Linked DNA regions of Homo sapiens: region 1 is linked to region 2. The links are contacts of gene promoters, found by promoter capture Hi-C in human tissues and cell types (Jung and others, 2019). All regions are on one chromosome and are shown on one strand. Each heading gives the region's core, a stretch centred on a gene start or on the middle of the fragment in contact. The rest is flanking DNA. Distances are from core to core; before and after follow the strand shown. Region 1 has its middle 28 kb from the start of ASPHD2. Region 2 holds the start of TFIP11 (tuftelin interacting protein 11).

Evidence for each region. Contacts are between HindIII fragments. The study calls those that stand out against the background at their distance.
Region 1: a fragment that was not itself captured here is called in contact with the fragment with the promoter of TFIP11 in region 2 in 2 of the 25 tissues and cell types used here (mesendoderm cells and thymus).

The regions. Positions count from the first base shown.
Region 1 is chr22:26,397,834-26,404,399 of GRCh38, reverse strand. No RefSeq gene overlaps it. Among named protein-coding and RNA genes, the nearest start is that of ASPHD2, 28 kb to the left of the region's middle. The HindIII fragment of the contact is 8,682 bases long and covers 1-6,495 here.
Region 2 is chr22:26,508,286-26,514,769 of GRCh38, reverse strand. TFIP11 (tuftelin interacting protein 11) reads left to right here and starts at 2,297. Exons shown (of 15, transcript NM_012143.4): 1 at 2,297-2,376; 2 at 2,595-2,671; 3 at 4,068-4,153; 4 at 4,489-4,706. The coding sequence starts at 4,498. It overlaps TFIP11-DT (TFIP11 divergent transcript), which reads right to left and starts at 2,238. Exons shown (of 2, transcript NR_144529.1): 1 at 1,736-2,238; 2 at 202-1,358. RefSeq lists enhancers at 1,475-2,012, 2,235-2,414. The HindIII fragment of the contact is 22,947 bases long and covers 1-6,484 here.

The sequences.
Region 1 (6,566 bases), core at 905-3,404, 110 kb after region 2:
GAGGCAGGGATGGAACTAGAAGAGACAGAGACAGAAAGACAAAGAGACAGAGAATCAGGAGAGAGTGGCTAAGACAGGCAGGACCTCAGGTCCTCTGGGATTTAGCCAAAGGCACTGCCCACAGCTTGGCCTTCTCTTGACTTCATTCACTCATTCGACAAATATTTAAGACTGCTAGACTTGAGTGGCAACAAAGGCCTCCATTTCTCAAGCATTTTCCATGTGCCAGGCACCGTGCTAAACATTTTACCTGTATTATCTCACTTTGTTCTCACTAGTAACTATATAGAGTAGTTATTATTATTATAGATCCATTTTACAGATTGGGAAACTGACACCTCTGGCCAAAGTCCCAGGGGTATTAAGTGATAGAGCCAGGTCTGCCTGCCTAGATCTCTCACTGTGCCATTAGGCCAATCACTATTACCCTTCCTCCTTCCTCCTTCCTCCTCCTCCTCCTTCTTCTGCTTTCTTTCTTCCTCCTCTTCTTTCTCCTCTCCTCCTCCTCCTCCTTTATCTTTTTTTTTGTTTTTTTGACACAGAGTCTCACTTTGTCATTCACGCTGGAGTGCAATGGTATGATTTTGGCTCACTGCAACCTCTGCCTCCTGGGCTAAAGTAATTCTCCTGCCTCAGCCTCCCGCATAGCTGGGATTACAGGCGCCCACCACCACGCTCGGCTAACTTTTTGTATTTTTGGTGGAGATGGGTTTTTGCCATGTTGGCCAGGCTGGTCTCAAACTCCTGACCTCAGGTGATCCACCTGCCTCGGCCTCCCAAAGTGCTGGGATTACAGGCGTGAGCCACTGCTCCCAGCTCACTATTGCTCTTCTAAATGGGACAGGAGACAGAAAGTGAGGCTCAGCGGGTAGGGAAGGAGCATCTGCTTCAGGAATTCTTCTTGTGGGCAGGGAGATCACGGGGAGCTGAATTAAAACAGTAAGAAGGCTGTTCCACATAAACATAGGGTTTTTAACACAGTGGAGGGATGGGCAGAATTGGCAAGGAACAGTAAATCATGCCCCTAAAAGCACAACATGCCTGTGTCCTAGGAACACGAGGATTAGAAGAGTTCAAAAATTCACAAACTGATGACAATTAGAATATCAGGTATAAGGAGCTACAGGGTCTTGGGAATTTGTTTCTTTTTTTAACAAGGCACTAACTCACCATATCAGGTGGCTTTGCAGTGAGCACCGCTTGCTTGGTGTGTGGAGTCCTTTAGAACAGGGATTTTTAGTCTGAGGATGTGGGTGGACTCTGGTTTGTTGGGAGTCTCCTGAGTTAGGATAGAGCTTTCCTGGTTTGGTTCTCTGGAAGCCGACCCTGAGTCATGGATTCCTCTAGAAGTGGTTCATTTGGAGGTGATACCAGAATGCACCAGAAAAGGAACAGAGAAGTGAGGCTTGGAAAGGAAGAAAGCCAATAAAAGGCATGTTACTGAGCGCTGTGGACAACCGAGGCCCCGATCTCCCTGGGAACTCTGGGGACGGCGCAGAACATGCCTCAAAGGTGTCCCTCCCAAGGAAAGGGGGAGCTGGGTATTTACCCCTCAACCCCATCCCTCTTTAGCTGAGGTCCGCTTCCAGGCATATCTCTCTGGCAGTTCAAGATGCCTTATGAGCCACCAACATAGAGTATTTGATTCTTACCTGTGGGTCTTGAATCCTTACGGATCTCAGACTTATTTTTAGAAGTAGGAAAACTGTTTGTACATTACATCAATATGATAACTTTGCAGATGAAGTATAGGTGTTTTGCAAGTATGACTGAATTCTTAATAGCTCTCTGTATGTGTGAAGTTGGGGTGGGGTGGGGACACAGGATGTATTTTCTTTCTTTCTTTTTTTTTTTTTTTTTGAGACAAGATCTTGCTCTGTGGCCCAGGCTGGAGTGCAGTGGCATGATCATGGCCCACTGCAGGCTTGACCTCCTGGGCTAGGGAGATCCTCCTGCCTCAGCCTCCCAAGCAGCTGAGACCACAGGTGCACACCACCACACTTGGCTAATTTTTAAATTATGTATACAGATGGGGTCTCCCTATGTTGCCCAGGCTGGTCTCAAACTCCCAAACTCAAGGGATCCTCCTGCCTTAGCTTTCCAAAGTGCTGGGATTACAGGTAGGGGCCACAACGCCTGGCCGATAGGATGTATTTTCTTAATTACTTGAAATACAAATAGTGTTCTATTACCAAGACCTCTTTTAATTTCAAGGGACAGAAACCCAACTCAAACTGGCTTCATCCCAAAGAGAATGTTTGGTTCATATGATTACAAAGGTGAGAGGTGGGTGGGTCTCACTTTCAGTCCAGCTGAATCTAGAAACTCCAACAACATCACCAGGGATCTGTCTTTTTCTCTTTCTAGGCTCTGTTTTACTTTCTCTTGTTTTCATTTGCAGTCATGATTGCCCTGCGCGGCAATAAAATGGCTGCCAATGGATCCAGGCACACCTCCTAGAGGCCTGGGAGCTCCTGCCAAAAGAGCCAGTCGGTTTCCCATTGGCCAGTTTGGACCACGTGACTTTCTCTGAGCTACCGTGGAATCTTTGATTGCCCAGGCTGTGGTTAGGTCCTCATGGTGTCAGGAAGGAGGATCAGTTCCACTTAAGCCTGTAGCCCCAGAGCCCCTCTCTCTTTCCTCAAAGGAAAAATTGAGGAACTGTTACCATGAGAAGAGGGCCTGGATTTCCATTATAACCGACATATGGAGTCCCTGAAGTGAAAAAGGGACCCTTCTTTTGGAAAATGTTGAGTTCTAGGCCAAAATGTACCAGGGTCTTTCTAGAGAGACATGCAATTGTTTGGCCATGGTGTATGGTTGCTCTTTCATCATTTGATGAAATCCTTTTGATTATATAACCTCTCAGAAAATTCTCCAGTAGAAAATAGTTGAAAGAAAGGAAGGAAGGACTATGGGGAGGGAAACTGGGGAAGCAGAGCAGAGCGAGGCTTCAGATAGTCACTGGAGAGGAGGGCCAGGTGGAAGCCATCTTCCTCCAGATGGGATCCTGGAGTATTGAAGGTCAGGTCCAGACTGATAAGAAAAGATGACTTCTAGAGCCACTAGTAAAGCCTCTCGAGACAAAAAAGCACACCCTCCTGCTGATTGTCCTTCATAGTCTTTTTAGCTTTCGATGGAACAAACTGTGCTGTGATAAACAACCTTGTATAAAAATCCTGACCCAAGGTGTTGAGCATTTCTGTGGGATCCGTGGAATAAATTAGGATGCAGCACACTCTGGCCCATAACTCAGCTTTAGAGCTCTGTGTAATGACCTGGAGAGATGTCCATTCGAGATATGTTCTTTCTCCCTGAATCTATGTTGAGAGAGATACACATAAAGATATAGATATATCAAGGGCGGGGGCATGGGGGAAGCAAAGCACATAATAACTTCTTTTGAGGAAAACAAAGTCTCTTATATGTATCCTTATGAGCAAAGAGAATGATGTGGAAGGAACTATACCAAAGAGTACTGGAAACATTGATGTTTCAAAGATGTGGGACGACAGGGGTTGAGAAAGGTTATTAGCTTGCTTACTAGGCCTGTGTGTTGCTTGAATCCTATAATCGCATGTGACCTTTTTCTTTCTGTCTGTTTTTTTTTTTTTTAATTGAGACATAGTCTCTTTCTGTCGCCCAGGTGGTGCAATCTCGGCTCACTGCAACCTCCTCCTCCCGGGTTCAAGTGATTCTCCTGCCTCAGCCTCCTGAGCAGAGTAGCTGGGACTAAAGCCATGGACCACCATGCCTGGCTAATTTTTGTATTTTTAGTAGAGATGGGGTTTCACCATGTTGGCCAGGCTAGTCTCGAACTCCTGACCCCCCTCAAGCAATCTGCCCACCTCAGCCTCTTAAAGTGTTGGGATTATATGCGTGAGCCACCATGCCCGGCCACATGTGACATTTTAAAGCATGTATATATTTCACATGCCATGAAACAAAATGTGAAAAGGAAAAAAAAATTACTGTATTTGTTAACGGCCCCCCAATATTAAACTCTACGGATATCTACTTGCCCCTACCCCTGCCTTCTTAGAAGGAAGGACACCAAGGAGGGTCCTGCAGGTTGGTGGATGGGGAACTGAAAAGGCAGACCTTGCTTGTATGTGTCTATGTATGAATTTATTCAGCCTGAGATTTTATTAGTAAAGGAAGTCCTCTCAAGCAGTTTCACCTGGCACAAAAGTTGTGAGATTCACGACGTTGGAAAATTTGCAAATCAAATGGTTCATTTAGTATGATACTGTACTTGCTAGTGGGATTATGTTGATTATGCACTATGAATAGCATATTTTATTTTTCTTTCTTTTTAAAAAATTGGTTGTGGCAAGAACACTTAACATGAGATCTCAACTTTTAACAGATTAATTTTTTTTTTTTTTTTTATTAGACAGAGTCTCGCTTTGTCGCCCAGGCTGGAATGCAGTGGTGTGATAATAGCTTACTGTAACTTCAGACTCCTGGGCTCAAGGGATCCTGCTGCCTCAGCCTTTCCAGTAGCTAGGACTACAAGCATGCACCATCACACTAAGCTAAGTTTTTAATTTTTTTGTGAAGACAGGGTCTTGCCATGTTGCCCAGGCAGGTCTCAAACTCCTGACCTCAAGCAATCCTCCGACCTTGGCCTCCCAAAGTGCTAGGATTACTGGCGTGAACCACTGCACCTGGCCCCGAACAGATTTTTAAGTGTACAACATAGCATTGCAGAACTTGTTCATCTTATGCATTATTTTTATATAAGAAGGGTGTGGTGGTATGGTTGCTAGAGAAAATGCAGGATCCCAGTTAAATTTGAATTTCAGATAAACAACACTTTTTTTTTAAGTATAAATATGTCCCAAATATTGCACTTTCCCATTGGCCCAGCTTGGCTCATGTGACCATCTCTCCACTAATCATGGAACCTCTGATTGGCCAGACCATGGTCAGGTGTCCCACAGTCAGAACTGTATTATTAATACTACAGATTTATTTAATTTTCAAATTTAATTGGGTGTCTTGCATTTTTATTTTGTACATTTGGTAACCCTACGTGGAAGAAAGTCAGATGGGTAGGGGGTGGGAGAATTCCTGAGTTTGGGGAAGGAGAGAGATTCAAGTAGGTTCCCAGGAATGTGAGACTCTTGGGGACAGAAATGGGTACAGAGGATTTTATGGAAGTTTTTCTGTGTGATGTGCCTGGTAATATACTTCCCACTCAGTCCCTTCTAGAGAACATCAGTACAAGTTAGAATCTTTGAAAGTCTTTTGTGTGGTTCTCTGGTTGGGGGCAGCATTGTATGAGCCCTGGGTCCAAAGCCACCCCATTTTTTATCTGTAACACGCAGCCTGGGCAAGAATGAGTAACAATGATGCTGGTTTCTTTTACTGCCAAGAATGAAGGGCAGCCTGCTAATTCTCCAAATCATATTTTGTTTTACCAGAAAGAATCCATTTCATCAGTTATCTTTGTCCAAAGAAAATAACCATTGTGAGGAAACAGAAGTGTGATTCAGTTTCTGTAGGATGCTCAAGGCCTTCCTTGAGAATCCCATGCTGAGGATGCCATCTGGTGGTTTAAAGGGACCCAGCTTGCCAGTGACACCGGCCCGGCTTTGGGCTTCTCTATTGGCTGATAGTCATTTCTTCACCAAATATTTGAGTGCCTACTCTGTGCTGGGCACTGTGGTAGCGCCACCAACAATAGTATTAGTGACATAGTTTTAGAATGATGCAGGCATACCTTGTTTCATTGGGCTTTGCTTTATTGCACTTTGCAGAGACTGATTTTTTTACAGATTGAAGTTTTGTAGCAACCCTGCATGGAACAAGTCTACTGATGCCAGTTTCCCAACAGCATGTGCTTACTTTATGTCTCTGTGTCATGTTTTGTTAGTTCTCACAATATTTCAACTTTTTAATTATTGTTATGTCTATTACAGTGATCTATGATGGGAGATCTTTGATGTTACTACTGTAACTGTTTTGGGGTGTCATGAACTGCACCCATAGAAGATGGCAAACTTATTCCATAAATGCTGTGTGTGTTCTGATTGCTGCACAGACTGGCTGTTTCACCATCTCTCTTCCAATCTTTGGGCCTCTCTGTTCCTTAAGACACAACAATATTGAAGTTAGGCCAATTAATAATCCTGCAATGGCCTCTAAGTGTTCAAGTGAAAGGAAGAGTTGCCATCTCTCACTTTGAATCAAGAGGTAGAAATGATTAAGCTTAGTGAAGTAGGTACATTGGAAGCCAAGACTGGCCTTTTGCTAGGCCTCTTTTGCAACTTAGCCAAGTTGTGAATGGAAAGGAAAAGTTATTAAAGAAAATTAAAAAGTGCCACTCCAGTGAAAACACAAATGAAAAGAAAGCAGAATAGGCTTATTGTTGATATGGAGAAAGTTTAAAGGTCTGGATAGAAGATGAAACCAGCCACCACATCTCCTTAAGCCAAAGCCTAATTAAGAGCAAGGCCCTATCTCTCTTCAATTCTGTGAAGGCTGAGAGAGATGAGGAAGCTGCAGAAGAAAAGGTTGAATCTAACAGAGGTTGGTTCATGAGGTTGAAGGAAAGAAGC
Region 2 (6,484 bases), core at 1,048-3,547:
TAGCCACAATCCTTTAGAAAGCTCTTACCATGCCAGGAGCTTTACATGCACTAATTATCACTTTCTGTTTTTGTTTTTCTCTAAACAACTCTCTTAGATCAGTACTGTCACTATCCCCAATCTACAGATGGAAAAATTGAGGTGTAGAGAGGTGAAGCAACCTGCCCTCGGGCCCATACCTAAGAAGTAGCAAAGTCGAGATTTGGATCCTTGAAGTTTTTACTCCAGAGCTTTCATTTTAAGAAATTGCAAAAAAGTTATTAAGTACAGAGAGAAACATTTTCCCTGTAATAATTTGAAATTAAGGTGACCATTTGATGCCTTATCCCCTGCCAAATACATTGATTTACTTTCCAGCAAACAAGAACATCCTCTGATGTAACTTAACAGGCAACCATGAAAATCAGGAAATTAACACGGACACATCATTACCACGGCATTGTAGGCCCCATTTAAACTTTTCCAACTGTCCCTGTAACTTCCTTTCAAGCAAAAAGATCCAGTTCAGAATCATGTGTTGTGTTTAGTTGTCATGCCTCTTTGGTCCCCTCCAGTTTGGAACAGTTCCAGGGTCTATCTTTGATTTTCATGACCTTGGCACTTTCTAAGATTACAGTTTTGTATACAGCATGTCTCTTTACGTGGGTTTGTCTGATATATCCTCATGATTACATCCAGGTTATGGATCTTCAGCAGGAATATCACAGGGGTGATGTTGCAATCTTCTCAGGGCATCCTATCAAGTGCCACATAACTTCACTTTGTCCCATTCCTGACAATGCAGACTCTGATCACTAAATCAGAGCCTGCACTCTTAACTACTCCATGACAGTCCACAAAGGTCCCTTCTTCAGAAGCCACAAAGTGAGTTCCATTTGGTGAAGTAAATCCACTAGCATCAGTCCCTCATGATCAAAGTAATTGCAGCTCCATAAAATCTGCTGTAAAGCCATAAACATAGCTACAGAAAAGCCAAGCGTATGTATGCTTTTGGCTTTTGGGCTACAAACAGATGTAAATACATTCAGGCACAGACTAAAAACACTTTTCTCCTCTGTTTCCCTTACTCTGCTCCTGGCAGGGCTTGTAGTCTGTTAGACCCTCTCTCCCGGCCTTCAATGCTAAAACCACATTTTCCATTTCTTTCCTGAGTACATACTATGTGTCAGGCACAATGATTCTACATGTCACTAAGAATACAGAGATCATTAAGACACAGTCATCATTCCTAAGCAGCCCACATTTAACTGGGTACACAAAAATTGTTGTTTAATTCTTAACAACTACTTGATGGTAGACTTAAGTATTTGACTCCAAGTCCCGTGCTCTTTTTACATTCCAACAATTGCCTCTTGAATCTTTTCATCACATAGAGCAGAGAGAGAAAAATTAAGCAAAAATTAATAGCTAACACTTCTTCAGCACCTACTGTTACCAGGTACGGTTTTCATTGCCTACAGTTTTATCTTATTGAATCCTTAACCATTTTGCAGAAGAGAAAACAGGCTTAGATGTAATGACTTGCCCAAGGTCCACAGCTGCTAAATTGCACTCAAGGTTGGAACTCCAGAGCCTGTGGACACTTAAATGTCTACAAGGAGTCCTTGGGCTAGTGAGGGCTTCCCAGGGAGGGCCCATGACTGTTCTGCTCATTGTATCACATTGGCCTAGCACAGGTGAGGGGCACTTAGTATATTTTAATTAGATCAATGAATAAATTAATGAATTTACCAACCTGCTGGAAACGAAAAGAATGGAAACAGCTCCTGGAGAGAATACTTGGGAACTCCAGAGTTTGCCCATTCATTCCTTCATTCCCTCTTAAACTCCTGCATAAAGGCCACTGCCCTGTGCCCACGACGGTGCTTATACCGAGAGCGTCAAAGATACAGGAATCACAGTCTTGACCTTCATTATTCCCATTTGAATGCTGTGTCCCAGGCCCCTTATTGTCTCACAGTATTTACCACAACTACCGTATGGGCTAATCCTACATCTCTATTTTACAGATTTACAATCTCAGAGTGGTAAAGTCTCCTTAGGCCAAGGTGGCTCAGCGGATTCCACACCAGTCATCACAGGCTGAGCGTCACAGTACAAAGCAGGAGCGGCAGGGAGGCCGATTCCGCGGGGAAACCACTCCCCAGCTATTCTAGGCCTTGCAAATCCACCCCTCCTATCTAAGATCCCAGCCGGCCGCTCTGCAGCCATATCCGCCGTAGCGTCCCACGCTGCCCTGGCAGCCAGCAGGACATCCGCTGTCGACTAACGTCATTTCCGGCGCGCCGGCCACGGTGCTTCCGGGTTCTGGTGTAGGAGCGGCGTCTTCTCGCGCGGATGGTGAAGCTGAATTTGGTACGCTGGACCCTCGGACAGGTGAGCACGGCTGGCCACAAGGGGACTCAGCGCCAGTGAGAGTAGGGACGAAGGCTCAGGGAAGGCGAGCTTCGGTCCAAGCCGTTGGGGTGTGGGGAGGGGAATCCATTTCGTAGACAGCTCTGCCGAGGCACGGAGAGGGGCGGTGCTGCTTGGGGTCAACTGGGATTTAGGGCTTGGATTCATTTAAGAACCTGAGCTTCCTTCACCAAACCTAGACAGCAAGAGAGAGACAAGCCCGAGGCCTGACTTCTAGCACTCCTGAGTTTGAGCCCTATGAGCAGTGGAACCTAGGGTAAGTTACTAACTTCTCTGAACCTCCTTTTTCTTATCTGAAGCATGAAAACTAACGGTACCTACCTTGCAGAAGTGTCTTGATGCAGACAGTTGATAATCGGTCTCAAGCGACCAGCATGTACCTAGCATCTACTGATAAAGGCTTCATAACTTGTGACTACTCGGGGCTTATTACCATTTACTATGCCCACGCAGGCAGTGGTATTATTTAACTTTATGTATTTGAGATTCCCCGTCTTTTCTGAAAATCCTTCTGTCCTAAACACTCCTGGAAGAGGTTGGGACCCGTTGCACCCAACCGGTGCACCAGTGAGTAGAAGAAGGCAGAGATAACGTTTTGCCAGAGGTGACCAGAGTTTGACACTGCCTGTGGAAGTAGTGAACTCCGTGTGCCTTAAGGCCGCTTTCAGCAAGACAAGAATCACAATTGCTGTCACCTATGGAGTGTATTATTGTGTAGTGCACCATGCTTGGCGCTTCACGTGCATATTTAATTCTCATACACTGGGTATCTGATAGAGTTGAATTTGAACTCAGGCTTCGATTTTAGCCTGCCTGATTTTACAGTCACTTTGCTAAGTTTACTCCCTAGTCCCATAATAATAATGATGATTGTGATGGTAAATACTGAGTGTCAACTTGATTGGATTGAAGGATACGAAGTATTGATCCTGGGTGTGACTATGTGGGTGTTGCCAAAGGAGATTAACATTTGAGTCTGTGGGTGGGGAAAGGCAGACCCACCCTCAATTCAATCTGTGTGGGCATAATCTAATCAGCTGCCAGCACGGCAAGAATATAAGCAGGCAGAAAAATGTGAAAAGAGAGACTGGCCTAGCCTCCCAGCCTATATCTTTCTCCTGTGCTGGATGCTTCCTGCCCTCGAACATTGGACTTCAAGTTCTTCAGCTTTGGAACTTGACTGGCTCTCCTTGCTCCTCAGCCTGCAGACAGCCTATTGTGGGACCTTTTGATCGTGTGAGTTAATAGTTAATAAGCTCCCCTTTATATATGTATGTCTATTCCATTAGTTATGTCGCTCTAGAGAACCCTGACTAATACAATGATTAACCTAATCATGGGACTAAAGTAGAAGCTATCGTTTCTTGAGCACTTATTTTGAACTCATTGAATTTGCTTTGTAAGCCTTCTCTAAGGTTGGTATGGTAGTTAATCCCAATTTAAGAAAGACAACTGAATCTGGTCACCCAGCTACTGTGAGGTAGATTCTCTATATCAATCTCTGGACATCTGACTATTAAAATAGTGTTCATAATTACTACAGTCTTTCAGTTCATCAGAAGAAATTCATGTTTTGTGAGGAAAACTGAAAATTTTGTTTCATCAAGTAATGTATTTCAAAAAGCATATTCTAAAAAAAATCACTCTCCTAGGACCACCAAGGATCCAGATATAATTCTTTCCTCAGTAATAGAAAAAAGAATCTGGGATCTAAGAAGATACCTACTCATTTTCTAAGGTAATAATGTACAAAATAACCTACTTAGTTATTTTTGTGTGGTTTGTGTATGTGTGAATATGTGTGATATTTATGATATTGACTAGGACAAGGAGATATGTACTTTTAAAGAATCATAGACTGTTAGGAGTAGTATTTTGTTCACCTGTTTTAGTACTGATTGTTATCTAAAAGTAGGTTTTTAATATCTTTTTTATTGAATAGTAATGCTGACTTTAATGGACTTTGAATTTGGAGAAAGTTCTGAAAGCAGCAAGGAATAGAGACTCACAAGGAATCCTTCGACTGCTGCCCCCAGGACTTACGGCCTGTGCTCTTTTTGTCTCTTCCTTTAGTGACTGGCCATGTCATTGTCCCACTTATACCGGGATGGGGAAGGCCGCATTGATGATGATGATGACGAGCGGGAGAACTTTGAGATCACTGACTGGGATCTCCAGAATGAGTTCAACCCCAACCGACAGCGCCACTGGCAGACCAAGGAAGAAGCCACCTACGGGGTGTGGGCAGAGCGAGACTCGGATGATGAGAGGCCCAGCTTTGGAGGCAAACGGTATTGCCTGGCATGGGGGCTGCTTCACCTTGCTTTAGGGAAGAGGGGGAAGATGGACAGGGAGTGGAGGAGATACCCTGATAAGTATACTTCTCACCTGGCCTTGTTGAGACTGTTAGCTGTGACATCATCTCGAGAGGTCTGGTTTCCTCTTTAGGCTAGAGTGCTGCTCTTTCACTGATTTATTCTATTTATTATTATTTTTTTTGAGACACGGTTTCACTTTGTTGCCCAGGTTGGAGTGCAGTGACGTGCTCTTGGCTAGCTGCAACCTCCACCTTCCAGGTTTAAGTGATTCCCGTGCCTCAGCCTCCCGAGTAGGTGGGATTACAAGCAAACGCCACCACCTCCAGCTAATGTTTGTATTATTAGTAGAGACGGGGTTTTGCCATGTTGGCCAGGCTGGTCTTGAACTCCTGACCTCAAGTGATCCACCCACCTCAGCCTCCCAAAGTGCTGGGATTACAGGCGTGAGCCACCACGCCTGGCCTCACTGATTTAATTATCAGTGTTTATTGAGCGATTGCTATGTATTAGGCCTGTGCTATAGACCCATTCTTGCCTTCCTAGAGCCCAGACATTAGAAGATGGAAATAGGCATTAACAACTCAGACGATCAAACTTGTGACTGTGATGCAGGACATGAGGGACATGAGGACATGAGGGAGAACACATTTTAGGGCATTTCATCTATTCTGAGAGGTCAAGGAAGATTTCTGTGGAGAAAAGTGACCCTTAAGCTGATATGACTGACAGTAGAAGGTAACTAGGGTGGTAGAAGAGGTCCCAATATGCAAAGGCCCTTGATGGGAAGCATCACGGTATCCACAAGGATATGAAAGGCTTGGGGGCTGGAGCAGAGAGGGGGAAGGGTAGCATAGTGTGTGTGATAGAGAGGGTGTGATGTGGGGCTGGGTTATGTTTTGAGAAGACCCTTTTGCTGGTGTGCTCAATAGGCATGGAGCCACAGTGGAAGACTGTGAGGAGGCCAAGCCAGTGGTCCCTGCACAGGTAGTGGAGGACTGGTCTAGGATAGTGGTGGGCAATGAGGATTCAGGCTGCACGTCTTCTCCCCAGCACAAGGTTATGTGTGCCCTGGCTGAACCTCACTCAACCAGGGTGTGCCAGGTTGGGGGTTTTTTCCTCCATGGCCTCACCTGTGGCCTCTAGGCTCTATCCTATTGAGAGTGTGCCTTTTTCTTTTTCTTTTTTTTTTTTTTGAGATGAAGTCTTGCTCTGTCGCCAGGCTGGAGTACAGTGGTGCAATCTTGGCTCACTGCAACCTCTGCCTCCTGGATTCAAGTGATTCTCCTGCCTCAGCCTCCCGAGTAGCTGGGACTACAGGCATGTGCCATCACACCCAGCTAATTTTTGTATTTTTAGTAGAGACGGGGTTTCACCATGTTGGCCAGGATCTCTTGACCTTGTCATCCGCCTGCCTCGGCCTCCGAAAGTGCTGGGATTACAGGCGTGAGCCACCACACCCAGCTGAGAATGTGCCTTTTTCAAAGGAGGCTGGGGGAGAAAGAGTATAGAGATTAGTCCAAACTTCTCATCCACAAGGAAGTCTGAAAGTGGATGACAAATAGATCAGGGAACAAGAATTGCATAATCATAAGATAATAATAATAGCTAACATCTCTTGGCTGCTTACTTGTCCTGGCTATTTCATAAACCTGGATTAATTTTCCTTATGAGAAAGGTACCATTATTGTCCCCATTTTACAGATTAAGAGACTGAGGCTAATGGTCATACAACTAGGCAGAGGCTAAGCTAG